Regions from separate parts of the Homo sapiens genome. Here all the other regions are linked to region 1. Evidence: promoter capture Hi-C in 16 types of primary human blood cells and fetal thymus (Javierre and others, 2016). All regions are on one chromosome and are shown on one strand. Each heading gives the region's core, a stretch centred on a gene start or on the middle of the fragment in contact. The rest is flanking DNA. Distances are from core to core; before and after follow the strand shown.

What was found. Contacts are between HindIII fragments. The CHiCAGO score rates a contact against its expected background, and 5 or more counts as called.
Region 2: a fragment that was not itself captured here is called in contact with the fragment with the promoter of PAFAH1B2 in region 1 in 16 of 17 cell types (total B cells, total CD8 T cells, naive B cells and 13 more); the score reaches 15.1 in total B cells.
Region 3: a contact is called between a fragment that was not itself captured here and the fragment with the promoter of PAFAH1B2 in region 1, in 1 of 17 cell types (erythroblasts). The highest score is 5.1, in erythroblasts.
Region 4: a contact is called between a fragment that was not itself captured here and the fragment with the promoter of PAFAH1B2 in region 1, in 17 of 17 cell types (total CD8 T cells, naive CD8 T cells, naive CD4 T cells and 14 more). The highest score is 23.1, in total CD8 T cells.

The regions. Positions count from the first base shown.
Region 1 is chr11:117,142,950-117,145,819 of GRCh38, forward strand. It overlaps PAFAH1B2 (platelet activating factor acetylhydrolase 1b catalytic subunit 2), which reads left to right and starts at 1,338. Exons shown (of 6, transcript NM_002572.4): 1 at 1,338-1,469. RefSeq lists a silencer at 1,548-1,867 and an enhancer at 2,418-2,597. The HindIII fragment of the contact is 2,379 bases long and covers 699-2,870 here.
Region 2 is chr11:116,885,929-116,888,933 of GRCh38, forward strand. The region is part of intron 6 of SIK3 (SIK family kinase 3); the gene reads right to left. Among named protein-coding and RNA genes, the nearest start is that of APOA1, 50 kb to the left of the region's middle. The HindIII fragment of the contact is 2,346 bases long and covers 530-2,875 here.
Region 3 is chr11:116,722,812-116,725,670 of GRCh38, forward strand. No RefSeq gene overlaps it. Among named protein-coding and RNA genes, the nearest start is that of BUD13, 49 kb to the right of the region's middle. The HindIII fragment of the contact is 6,964 bases long and covers 1-2,859 here.
Region 4 is chr11:116,852,259-116,855,075 of GRCh38, forward strand. The region is part of intron 21 of SIK3 (SIK family kinase 3); the gene reads right to left. It also overlaps APOA1-AS. Among named protein-coding and RNA genes, the nearest start is that of APOA1, 16 kb to the left of the region's middle. RefSeq lists a silencer at 701-770. The HindIII fragment of the contact is 5,012 bases long and covers 1-2,817 here.

The sequences.
Region 1 (2,870 bases), core at 88-2,587:
CCAAAGGATTATAAATCATGCTGCTATAAAGATACATGCACACGTATGTTTATTGTGGCACTATTCACAATAGCAAAGACTTGGAACCAACCCAAATGTCCATCAATGATAGACTGGATTAAGAAAATGTGGCACATATACACCACGAAATACTATGCAGCTGTAAAAAGGATGAGTTCATATCCTTTGCAGGGACATGGACGAAACTGGAAACCATCATTCTCAGCAAACTATCACAAGGACAGAAAACCAAACACCGCATGTTCTCATAGGTGGGAATTGAACACTGAGAACACTTGGACAAAGGGCGGGGAACATCACACACGGGGGCCTGTCGGGGACTGCGGGGCTGGGGGAGGGATAGCATTAGGAGAAATACGGAATGTAAATGACGAGTTGATGGGTGCAGCAAACCAACATGGCACACGTATACCTATGTAACAAACCTGCACGTTGTGCACATGTACCCTAGAACTTGAATAAAAAAAAAAAAAAAAAAGAAAAATTACTTGACATATCTTGACATTTTAGGCTCCCAGGATTTTACAGTATTCTTAACAGGTTTTGTCAGCAAAATCAACCCCCACCCCCGCATCAGTTTAAGAGCCCTGGAAGGCTCTGCCTATTCACCAGCATAGAGCTGAGATCCTTAAAGGGCCAGTTCAGGGCACTGCTCCAGCAACCGTTGCGCTGCTATAAGCTTGAGCACATCTCTTGCCCCTCCTCTCTACTTTTATAGATCCTGCATTTATTTAGCATATAATCTTTTCAATATTGACTTTGTATATGTATGTCTTCCCCTAAACTGGATGTATCTTTTAAGGAAAAGCCTGGGGTTCGTCATCCCCCTATGTATCACCTTTACAGGCGGTCACCCAAAATCTCCACATTCATCATAGAAACAGAAATTCCACTAATAAATGTCAGGTACTGCCTCCTTAACCTTGGTCCGCTATTTCCCTCCCACTTTCAGCAGTCTGGTTTATTCCATGGGTGGAAGAGGAAGCCAAGTTGGCTGAGTGTGAAGGGAATGGCGTCAGTGTGACTTCACGCCACATCGTCCCGAATGCCAGCTCCACACTGCGGTGGCACGAACGCAGGATTGAGAGATGCAGCTGGAGTAAAGAGAGAAGCCCATGTCCCTCAGACGCCACACAAAATGGGGGTAACCGCGAGAACAAAGCAGGGTACCCAACGGGGTGTGGCGGGACACCTGGGCGCACGCCGCCAGCGCCCGGGAGAGCGAAGGCGGGGAGAGAGGAACCACGCTGAGGCGTGGCAGGATGGGGGCGGGACTTCCGGAAGCCATTTGGCTGAGTGGCAGGGGAACCGGAAGTGGAGGAGCTGCTGCTGGTGCTGGGGCCGGAGGAGGGACGCGCCGGAGCGGGACCGACGGGACCGAGCGAGCGACCGACGCGCCACCCGCCGACGCCTCAGCCGCTTGGGGCCCGCACGGACCCTCTACTTCAGTGAGTGCATCCAGGGTCGCAGGGAACCGGTGGCTTAGAGGCGGGGGTCGGAAGGGGCTGCGAGGTGTTATTGTGAGAGGCCCGCGACCTCCCCTCCCCCACCCTTGCGGCCCCTCCCCCCACGCCGCCCCATCCACTTGGGGGGGGCCTCGCGAGCGCGCGCCTTCTCTGCGGGCCCAGCGTCGGCTTCCCAGCAGCCGGCGCAGCTAGTTTTCGCTCTGAGAGCCCTTTCCCGATATTCCATACCGAAAGCTGGCGTTTCTCCTCAGCCGCCGGCCGGCGCCTCCACGGCCTTTCCCAGGAGGGTAGCGCGGCGGGCGCCCCGCCCCGCCCTGCCCTGCCCTGCCCTGCCGGGCCCACCCGCGGTAGGCCTTGCGCACCCCAGCTCGCCCCGGCTGGGCGCTGCAGCTCCTGCCCGGGTCTCCGCTGCTGCCTTTTCCCTTTATCACAGGGGTCTAACTTCTCACTCTTCTCTCCCCTCGCGTCTGGTCGGAGGCCAAAACCAGTTACTCCGTTGTGTTTTTACCGAGCACTTTTCCCTCCTCCTTTTGTTGAAAAATTTCAACTCTTTAGAAACTTCTCCGTTGCCTCTTAGGATGTGTTTATTCAAAAGTTGCATAGACCGTCACCACTCGGAAGGGATTATTTCTTGGAAGGCTTTCCAGCCCCCATCTCATCTTAGACATGAATGTGCTCGGAGCGGCTGGTGACCTGCCCAAGGTCAGCCAGCTAGATAAACCTGTCAGCGGAGAGGTTTGGGGGGATGTTTTTTTCCTGGCTCACCGTCCGTTTGCCAGATCCGTGCCTTCTGGTCTACAGGTTTGATTGACCCGTTGCGTGGTGACTCATGCTTCTGCTTTTCATAGCTCGCAGGCCAGCGTTGCTTTTCAGAATTTATACACAAACAAGAACTAACACTCGGAGCTTTCGCCTCTTTGTAGAGCTTACCCGTAGAGAAAGGAAAGACCACCCGGATCCACCCTAGGACCTCATTTTGTACAGCTTGAAATTATGGGAAGGGGTTGGGCCGGGGGTAAAGGTGTGGAGAAAGTGGAAGGAGAAAGTGCTTAATTAAGATTGTCTTTGCCTTGGATGTGCCTTGTGTCTTTGGCTTCTTCTGGGCACATTGTTCTGACATAAAGGTTGCCTCCTTGTGGGGGAGAAGGGGAGGATTAGTTTGTTGGCTTGGGCATTTGATCATAAATTATGGAGGTGCTGGACCGGAGGAACCACCCACCAGCCCACGGAGGCTACCGGGCATTCAGGATAAGGGCCGCCTTCTTCTTCAGAATAACCATACCCACTCCCTCTGAAACAAAGTGGAGAGTCTTAGGTCTGAGTGGAAACTCTAAATCTTTTAATTCTTGGTTCAACTTTCTTCATCTGTTTTCCTGGTTCAGA
Region 2 (3,005 bases), core at 453-2,952, 260 kb before region 1:
TTAAATAAGGTAATGCAACAGTGCCTGGTACATAGAAAGTGGTCAATAAATGTTGACTATTATCCATATCTCTGAAGTCCTTCCACTTGGAATGTCCTTCTTTTATTTTTCTATTTAGGGTTGCCATAAGCCAGGAGACAGCTGGTTTGAAAAGGCTAATAATAAATAGGGCAGTACCACTATTTATCTACTGGTTTTTAGTTATGTTAGGTCATGGGAATGAACACGGCTGGCCTGTTTCACTCTGAAGTAGTTCTTAACCTCTTTTCTGACATCAGCTGTGATTTCTACATTCACTGACATGAAAGCACTACATAGATTTTTCTCTCTGGCGGTGCAGTGTGTCTCAAAAGGTATGAGAAAACTGCTTTGAGGACTCTGAGCCCCTCGGTATATGGAGACTTGGTGGGTGAGCCAATTTAATCCCTTGCCCCATTGGTTCTAAACAAAGTGCTTTTAGCCAAGCAAGATGCTGTGTGGTTCTTGATGAGTAAGCCTATCAGGGCAGAGTTGTTTGCCTCTAAGTAGAAGCTTTTTGGCAGTAGCTGCAGGTTACATTCTCCATCAGAAGCATTATGTAAGCCTGGGTTTTGCGTTCCCAGTAATAAAATGCTCATGCAGTATTACAATTAATTAAGTCACAATGAAGTCTAATCAATAAAGACTCAAAAATATTGTCCACAAGAGATCTCTATGCCTTCACTAACGCTGCAGTTTTTTCACTGTAAATTAATTTTCCTTCAGTTAAATAAACGATCTTAGTATGTCTGCTAGCAGGTGGTACAACAGGGGAATAGGGTAAACTAGGCTTTAAGTATGTTGTTAAAAAAATATATTGAATGAATCTGGTGCTCAAAAAATTTAAGTTATTTGCATCCATCGGTGGAAGGGCAGATCAGAGGAAATATTTGCCAACACATGAAGCCAGGCCAGGTTTCACCTTCCACAACAGCTCAAGAAAACAGCAAGTTTCAACTTTTAATCCTTCTATAATTTAGACTCAGGGTTTTATCAAACTGCTCTTTGGGATGCTCTGAGAAGTTTAATCCAAAAACACTGGCCTGGATCAAACTTATTTTACTTAAGGAATAGGAAGCAAACTCTACAGTAGATCAAAACACCCTTTTACACCTAAAAGTCATTTGACTTGGTCACCTTCACAATAACTCATATAACAAAACTACATAAAACCATGGCTGGGCGTGATGGCTCACGCCTATGATCCCAGCATTTTGGGAGGCAGAGCCAGGCGGATTGCTTGAACCTAGGAGTTCAAGACCAGCCTGGGCAACATGATGAAAATCTTGTCTCTACACTAAAAAAAAAAAAAAAAAAAAAGTATATAAAACCAAGTGGTTTGATGAATAAATAATTTAGATCATGTTAATAATATAATACAAGAGTCTGGCAGGGCACGGTGGCTCACGTCTGTAATCCCAGCACTTTGGGAAGCCGAGGCGGGCAGATCACTTGAGGCCAGGAGTTCAAGACCAGCCTGGCCAACATGACGAGACCCCGTCTCCACTAAAAATACAAAAATTAGCTGGGTGTGGTGGCACGCACCTGTAGTCCCAGCCACCCAGGAGGCTGAGGCAAGAGAATCACTTGAACCCAGGAGGCGGAAGTTGCCGTGAGCTGAGGTCGCACCACTGCACTCCAGCCTGGGCGGCAAAATCTGTCTCCCAAAAAAAAAAAAAAACAAGAGTCTGATATAAGATTCCATAGTTAAGTAGTGATGACTCAGTTTTTCATTCAAAAACACTTACTGAATGCTTATGTCTTACCAGGGGCTGTCAGGTTTTATGGAAGGTATTGAGTGTAAAACACAGCTCTGATAATCAAGAGGCTTACATTCTAGTGGGGAGAGGAGGAAGACACATACATAATTATAAAAACTAGGTGGTATACAATCAACCTAGCCTCAAATAAATCCTCTTTTAAATGTATGCCACTGTCATTCCAACTTGAAAATATATGTCTTTAGTACATCTCAGGATGCCTATGAAAGGAAACTTGTGTCAAACAAACAACACCAGGCATAGAAATATACATGAATTGTGAGGATACTTCATTCCACACATTACTGACAATAGAGAGCAGCTTAGAATTCTTGAGCTAACTATATCCATTTGCAGAGCATGGCCTCCCACACAGCTGTATGTAGCTACTCTGGAATTCAACTTGGCTAGAAGCAGCTACATGGTAGAGGCTTTGCCCTCTGGTCTTCCAAGTGATCATTTAGAACACTATACCAGCTCTGCTGGAGTTTCTAGACCCTTCAGGAAGAAAAACAGATAAACTCAGCTCAAGCCTATGACAACAGCTGAGAAAAGGAAGGATCTTGTGCATAAGGAATTCTCTCAATCACGCTATCTCCCGTAATACAGCAATAGCAGCTGGCCTCACAGGCTGAAAAGCAGCCAGCACTCGCCTCCATCAGAAGACTATGCTCCAGGTCTACTGAGATACAACTGTGCCCAGAAACACGAGGCGTAAGCAGAAAAAGGACTCTGGGACAGACTCTAAACTTCCTTCACCTGACACTTTCTGGTACTTGAAGGTTGTCTAAGCTAAGAAAAGCCTAAATAACCGATGAATTCATTTTCTGCTATGCCTTATCCTTTTGAAGTATTCTCTAATGGGCCTTGGGATTTAGGCCTATGACATTCAGCAATGCCAAGCACATGTATATTACCAAGGGCCAGAGAGATCATATTGGTAATATAGCAAGTATCTACTGACTTCCTACCCTGGTTGTTTCTCATTCTCTGTACTAATCATACAAAAACTTGTATTGCTACTTAGGGAATTATTTAACTGGGATTAAAGAGCGACTACGTTTAGGATAATCCTGTTGGCTTTCTCTGAGTCTTGAAGCTTTCAGGTTAACTAACATCATATTACAAATAATAGTTCTAAGCAGTTAGACTGTTAGTTTATTTCTAAGCACTAATAGACAGTGTGGCTGACAGCATGCTTAGCTGTTTTCTAGGACCCCCTATCTG
Region 3 (2,859 bases), core at 250-2,749, 420 kb before region 1:
CTCTAAGAAAAAGGGCAGGGGAACAGGGATCTCCTTGCCACGCCTTCTAGGAGTTAATCCCACAAGGAAGGAGCCTCCTTGGGAACCAGGCCATAGGGAGTGGCCCCCCAGTTGCCTGGGCTAAGATCCCATGGGCAAGGGAGGTCACCTCTTAGAAGAAATCCTATCAACCCTTCATGACCTGGCTCCCGCTTCTCTTTCCAGCTGCCTCCTCATTCTCCCTGTGTTTCATCCCTATCAAGGCACTGCCCATTCCCCAGCAGCCACAGCCTCTCATGCTTCCTGCCATCCCTCCTGCCTTCAGGCCTTCCTACACTCCATCTTAGCAGCCTAGGGAGCTCCTCCTGTTTCATCAGTGCCCAGTTTAAATACCCCTCCTCTGGAAAACCTGCCCTGACTGCCCACACCCTACAAGATTAGGTATTTTTTTTCCCCTACGCTCTGCACAGTTTGTGTTGTAATTATTTGTTTACTTCACTGAGACAATGAGCTCCTTGAAGGCAGGAACCATTATCTTTCTTCAGCTTTGTATCACTAAGACCTGGGCTAGACTTTAAAAGTCTGTCTAACGAATACATATTTGAACTAAAAAGATCACAGATACCTCGTCTAGATGCCTGACTCTTGACAAATGTCTAAACTGTTCAGAATGAGACATTTATTCCCTTCCTGACTGTATCTCCAATCCCTGCGATTGAGAAGCAGTGGGGATGGGAGACGTGACCCTCAGCAGGGTGAGTTTCTAGGATCGTGAGCCCAAAGGCCCCGGGTAGTTCCTAACAGGGAGGTGCCTCGGGCTGAGCAGCTGCTGCTGCTCCATGGCAAAGGCTTGCGGTGCTGGAGAGAGCCACAGGCTCTCTTCCCCAGGTCGGGGGCCCAGGTGACCCATCCAGTTGTTGTGCAGGAATATGGAGGGGCTGAAGGGATCCCAGTACCTCTGGACTTCCACAGCAGCCGGGCCCCTTAGAGCATGCCACACAGCCAGCCACAGCCCTGCCTGCCCACCACAAGGGCCTCCCACCCAGCATCCTCTCCTCTCCTGCCCACCCTCTCCTGCTCCCCCAAACCTGCTGACCCCTGGTGGCTTTAGCCTTCCTTGAGAGAGCCAGAAGGGAGAGCATCCATTTTAAATTAACAAGGTTATTAGCAGTTAATTACCTGAGGTATCATTGTAATTGAAAAGAAAAAGAGAGAAGAGAAGCTCATAAACCCAACCCTTTCTTTTCACCATCCCTGGGGTGGTGCGGGTGACCCCGGCCCCCTCCCCACAATAGGGCCCTGCACACACCATTGTCCTTTCTTTCTCCATGTTCCTCCACCTGCCCCCACTTCACAGGGATATTGAGGAGAGGGAACCAGACCCAAGGAGAGCAAGCCACCCGCCCCGCAGGCACTTCAGGGATGCTGAGACACACTTGGAGTCCATAAATGCAGAGAGATTTATCTCATATTGGGGTGTGCAGGGAGGAGGCACAAATCTGAAGCCTTTAGTCAATATTTTTAGTGATTTTTTTTTCCCCTAGATTGTCCTGTTATTCTACAAGTTAGTATGGCTGGCATCTGTCAGCATTAATGATGTTTAGTCCCAAATTCACTGCAACCAGAGATCACAGACCATCTCCCCTCCCTCCTCCCCACTGCCACCCACCCCTGCCCTGAGGACACTGGGCTGCAGGGAGGGGAAGGGGTGCAGAGAGAACACAGAAGACCCCTCCCTCAGGCTGGCCATGTGAACTCCAGCACTTGCTGAAGAGCTCCTGAGGCAAGGATGCCACATGCCAACAGTTCTTGGGTTCGTGTCCTGTCACTGAGACTTCACAGAAGGAGCCCCAGACTCACGGAGTCCGTGAAGTAACCCACCTATAACCCTCACAGCAGCCTCCCATTCTCCCCAAACTCTTCCCTGCCTAGGGTACACCAGAAGGAGGAGCATAACCCAAGAGAGCCAAGAATCCCCCCAAAAAAAATCTCCCCCAAAGGCAAGCAGTAGGTGCAGGTGGCCCACACCCCCTGGCCAGTGGCCTTAGCAGCACTGCTGGGTGTCTGGTGTGGAGGGCAGTGTGGGGGCTGGACGGGTGAGCCCGAGTAGGAAGGCAGCACCCCCAGCTCCTTCATGCCTCTGAGATGCCCTGACTCCTGCCATACCCAGCCACCCTCCCTGTCCTCCTTCCCCCTGCCCCCTTTTCCTTTCCTCTGTAAGGCCCTGGCTCCCTCGCTTAGGCCAAGTCCTCTCTCCTCTGCTACCTACTTTCCTGGGCAGCACTCAGCCCCTCAGTAGTCAGCATTGTCAGGAGCAGACCCCTCACCTCCCTCTCAACCTTCTGGAAGCAACAAGGACAGACAGCAAAGCTGGGGAAGGGCAGAGCGCACAGAAAGCCCACACATAATCGCATATGTGCGCCAGTGTGATTGTATGAAGCATCATGTACATAACAGAAAATGGCATTCTCATGTTAGCCTTTTCAATTGAGCATTTACCATGTGACAGGTAAGTAACATTATTAGCCACATTTTATAAATGGAGAAATCAGGGTTCAGAGACCCTAAGTGATATGTCCAAGAATGAGATAGAGAAGGACATGAACCTAGGCAGTCTGTCTCCAAACTGCCTAACCCCTCCATTAATATGCCTTCCAACAATGTCTGCCGTGGTGGGGGTGGGGGTGAGGGTGGGGAGGAGATGGTCAGGAGTCAAGGTGCGTTTCAACTTTCCCCTCCCCACTCCGTGTGGGAGGCTGCTGCTCGACACAGCACCAGAGAGAGCCCTTCCTCTTCTCCCTGACAGGCTGAGGAACAAGGGGCAGAGTCCTTGCTAGGGAGGCCAAGCCACCGGGCACCGTCTCCCCGACCAGGGCCCTC
Region 4 (2,817 bases), core at 254-2,753, 290 kb before region 1:
CTGCAAACCAAAACACCCACCCTCCTTTGGGCTCTGCCTTGTCTGCTGTCTTCCCCGCCTTCAGGTCTGATGCCTGTAGGCACCAAGACAGAGCAAGCAACCACCTGACAAATCATGTAGGGGGCCTTCCTGACTCCCAGCCCAGAGCTCATCCCTCAGCCAAGCTGGAGTTGAGCACAAGGGTCATGAGCACAAGTTCTGGGGTCAGGAAGAGTTGGCCGTGAATCCTGGCTTAGCTGCTTCCTGAGGAGCAGGAGCTCGGGCAAGTTATCTTGCTTTGCTGGGTCTTAGTTATCTGTACAACTGGACTGACTCCATGGGTGTGGAGTGCTTCATAGAGGTTACTACACTGTAAAGGCTCAATAAAGTCTAGCATGATTTATATTCAGTTTAGAGATGTTATTTCTGAGTGCATAAGGACGTGCTGAGTCAGCTGACAAAAACAAACAAGGAAATTGATTTAATCACAGAACCCTGCTTGCAGAATTATGAGGGACAATATACCCATATGTAAATGAACAAATGACTCAGGGAAACTTTAATTTCCAGGAGAAGCCTCTGATTCAGGACAGACAAATGTCAGTTAAAAGCCAGATGAAAAAGAGTATTAATAGGAGTCAGGGGATACCCCAGGGCTCTGTCTGCTCAAGTTTCAGTATCATCAGTAGGTCAAAGACCTGGAAGGGCTAGCATCTTTCACTTGGCAGCTGTGCTTGGAGGGTGCAGAGTGGGCAAGGAGGCGTAAAGGAAAAAATACATGACCAGGGGATCAGAAAACTTGAAGTCAGGACCCAGCTCCCTCACCAGCAAAGTGTTGGCAAATCTTTCAGCTTCTCCTCAAGGTTCCTGATCTGAAAAATGACGGTTGTTTGGGGGCTCGAAAAGACAACACATGTGAAAGAGTCTTTAATCAACTGTAAAAGACCAAATAAGTCAAGTCTGATTTTTGGTAAGAATGCTGACCCTGAGTCTAGAAGTCCTTTGTGACACTCTATAAATAAGACCCTATCGACCATTTTGGGGGGTACAAACAGACTAACCCACTGCCCAAGGAACATGACATTCAGGATCAAATCTTTGGCAACCCTTTATGCCAATTCAGCAGCTACCAAAGTCATGGAGGAAAGATGGTTCCCAAGAGCTACATGCTCGAATATTTATCAAACTAAAGCTAAGAGAGTGCAGAGGTGGGATGATCGTCCGATCACACAAGGGGAAAAGTGCACAAATGGACACAATGCACGCCACCCACCTTCCCGGGGAACTTTGGGGCAACCTGCACAATTCTCTATTGAATCTGTCAATGTTGACTCGTCCTGACTCACTTACTGGGTTTTGAGAGAAAATGGGAGCAATAACGTGACTGCATACTCCCCTTAAAGGTTCTGGGGTAACCCCTCCCACTCTGTCAGCATTTTACTGCTCTATGAGGCCTGAGTAATAAAGCTGAGGCTGACTGAGCTCAGAGAAGAGGATGTGGTTTTCTTTGTGAGTTCCAGTTGGTAATCTCATGGTGTAGATTGGTTATGCTGCTGTGTTTATTTGCAAAGTCAAAAAGATCAAGTGTGTGTACCACTATAGAAGAAAGACAAACCTTGTTTTTCCTTCTAGGGTGGCAGGCAGGGAGATTACGGACAGCATGGGGCATGTGAAATCCTGACACTTCTACAAATTGGGAAGAAACCTTTGGCATGCTGCCTGCTTAGTGCTCTCACAGTGCCTGGCCTCATACTGGCTGGTGGCAAATCGCCATCAAGGAAATAGGTAACCATGGACACTGATATGATGGCATCTAATTTTCCTTTACTAATACCAATATGGCTGGGTGTGGTGGCTCATGCCTGTAATACCAGCATTTTGGGAGGCCAAGAAGGGAGGATTGTTTGAGCCCAGGAGTTCAAGATCAGCCCCGGCGACATAGCAAGACCCCATCTATACCAAAGGAAAAAAAAAATTAGCTGGGTGTAGTGGCACGCGCCTGTAGTCCCAGCTGCTCAGGAGGTTGAGGTGGGAGGACTGCTTGAGCCCAGGAGGTCGAGGCTGCAGTGAACCGTGGTTGCACCACTGCACTCTAGCCTAGGTGACAGAGCAAGACCCTGACTCAAAAAGTAACTAAATAACACCAACAATCCCTGTTCATCTACCCTTAAGAAATGCTAAGAAGATCACACTAGCTCTGCTCTTCTCAGTGATACTTCTTGCAGCACTCAGTACCTAGCACTTCATAGCAAAGCTGTTTATGAGCTTGTTTTACATCCCCTAGTAGAGTAGAAGCTCCCTGAGGACAGGTTATCCTTTCATCTCTGCATTCTCACAGCACCTACAGTAGAGTCTTGTGCAACACAGTTGAGATGGAGGGACCATTAAAAGAAACAGCAGGCATTCCTTCCTGGCAAAAAGGTTGAGAAGAGTGAGCTCCCCCACTTGCCTGCAGAGTGGTGGGGGCACAGCATTATAAGCCTTTCGTGACAGAAGTGAACAGCAAATTATCTGATGATTTTTTCAGTAAAGTAAAAATGTAAGCTCTGGAGTTTTTAAAAGAAACCTGAAAGCCAGGCATGGTGGCTCATGCCTGTAATCCCAGCACTTTGTGAGGCCGAGGTGGTTGGATCACTTGAAGTCAGGAGTTCAAGACCAGCCTGGCCAACATGGTGAAACCCCGTCTCTACAAAAAAAAATTAGCCGGGTGCGGTAGTGCACACCTGTAATCCTAGCTACTTAGGAGGCTGAGGCAGGAGAATCGCTTGAACCCAGGAGGGGTAGGTTGCAGTGAGCCGAGATCGTGCCACTGCACTCCAGCATGGGTGACAGTGTGAG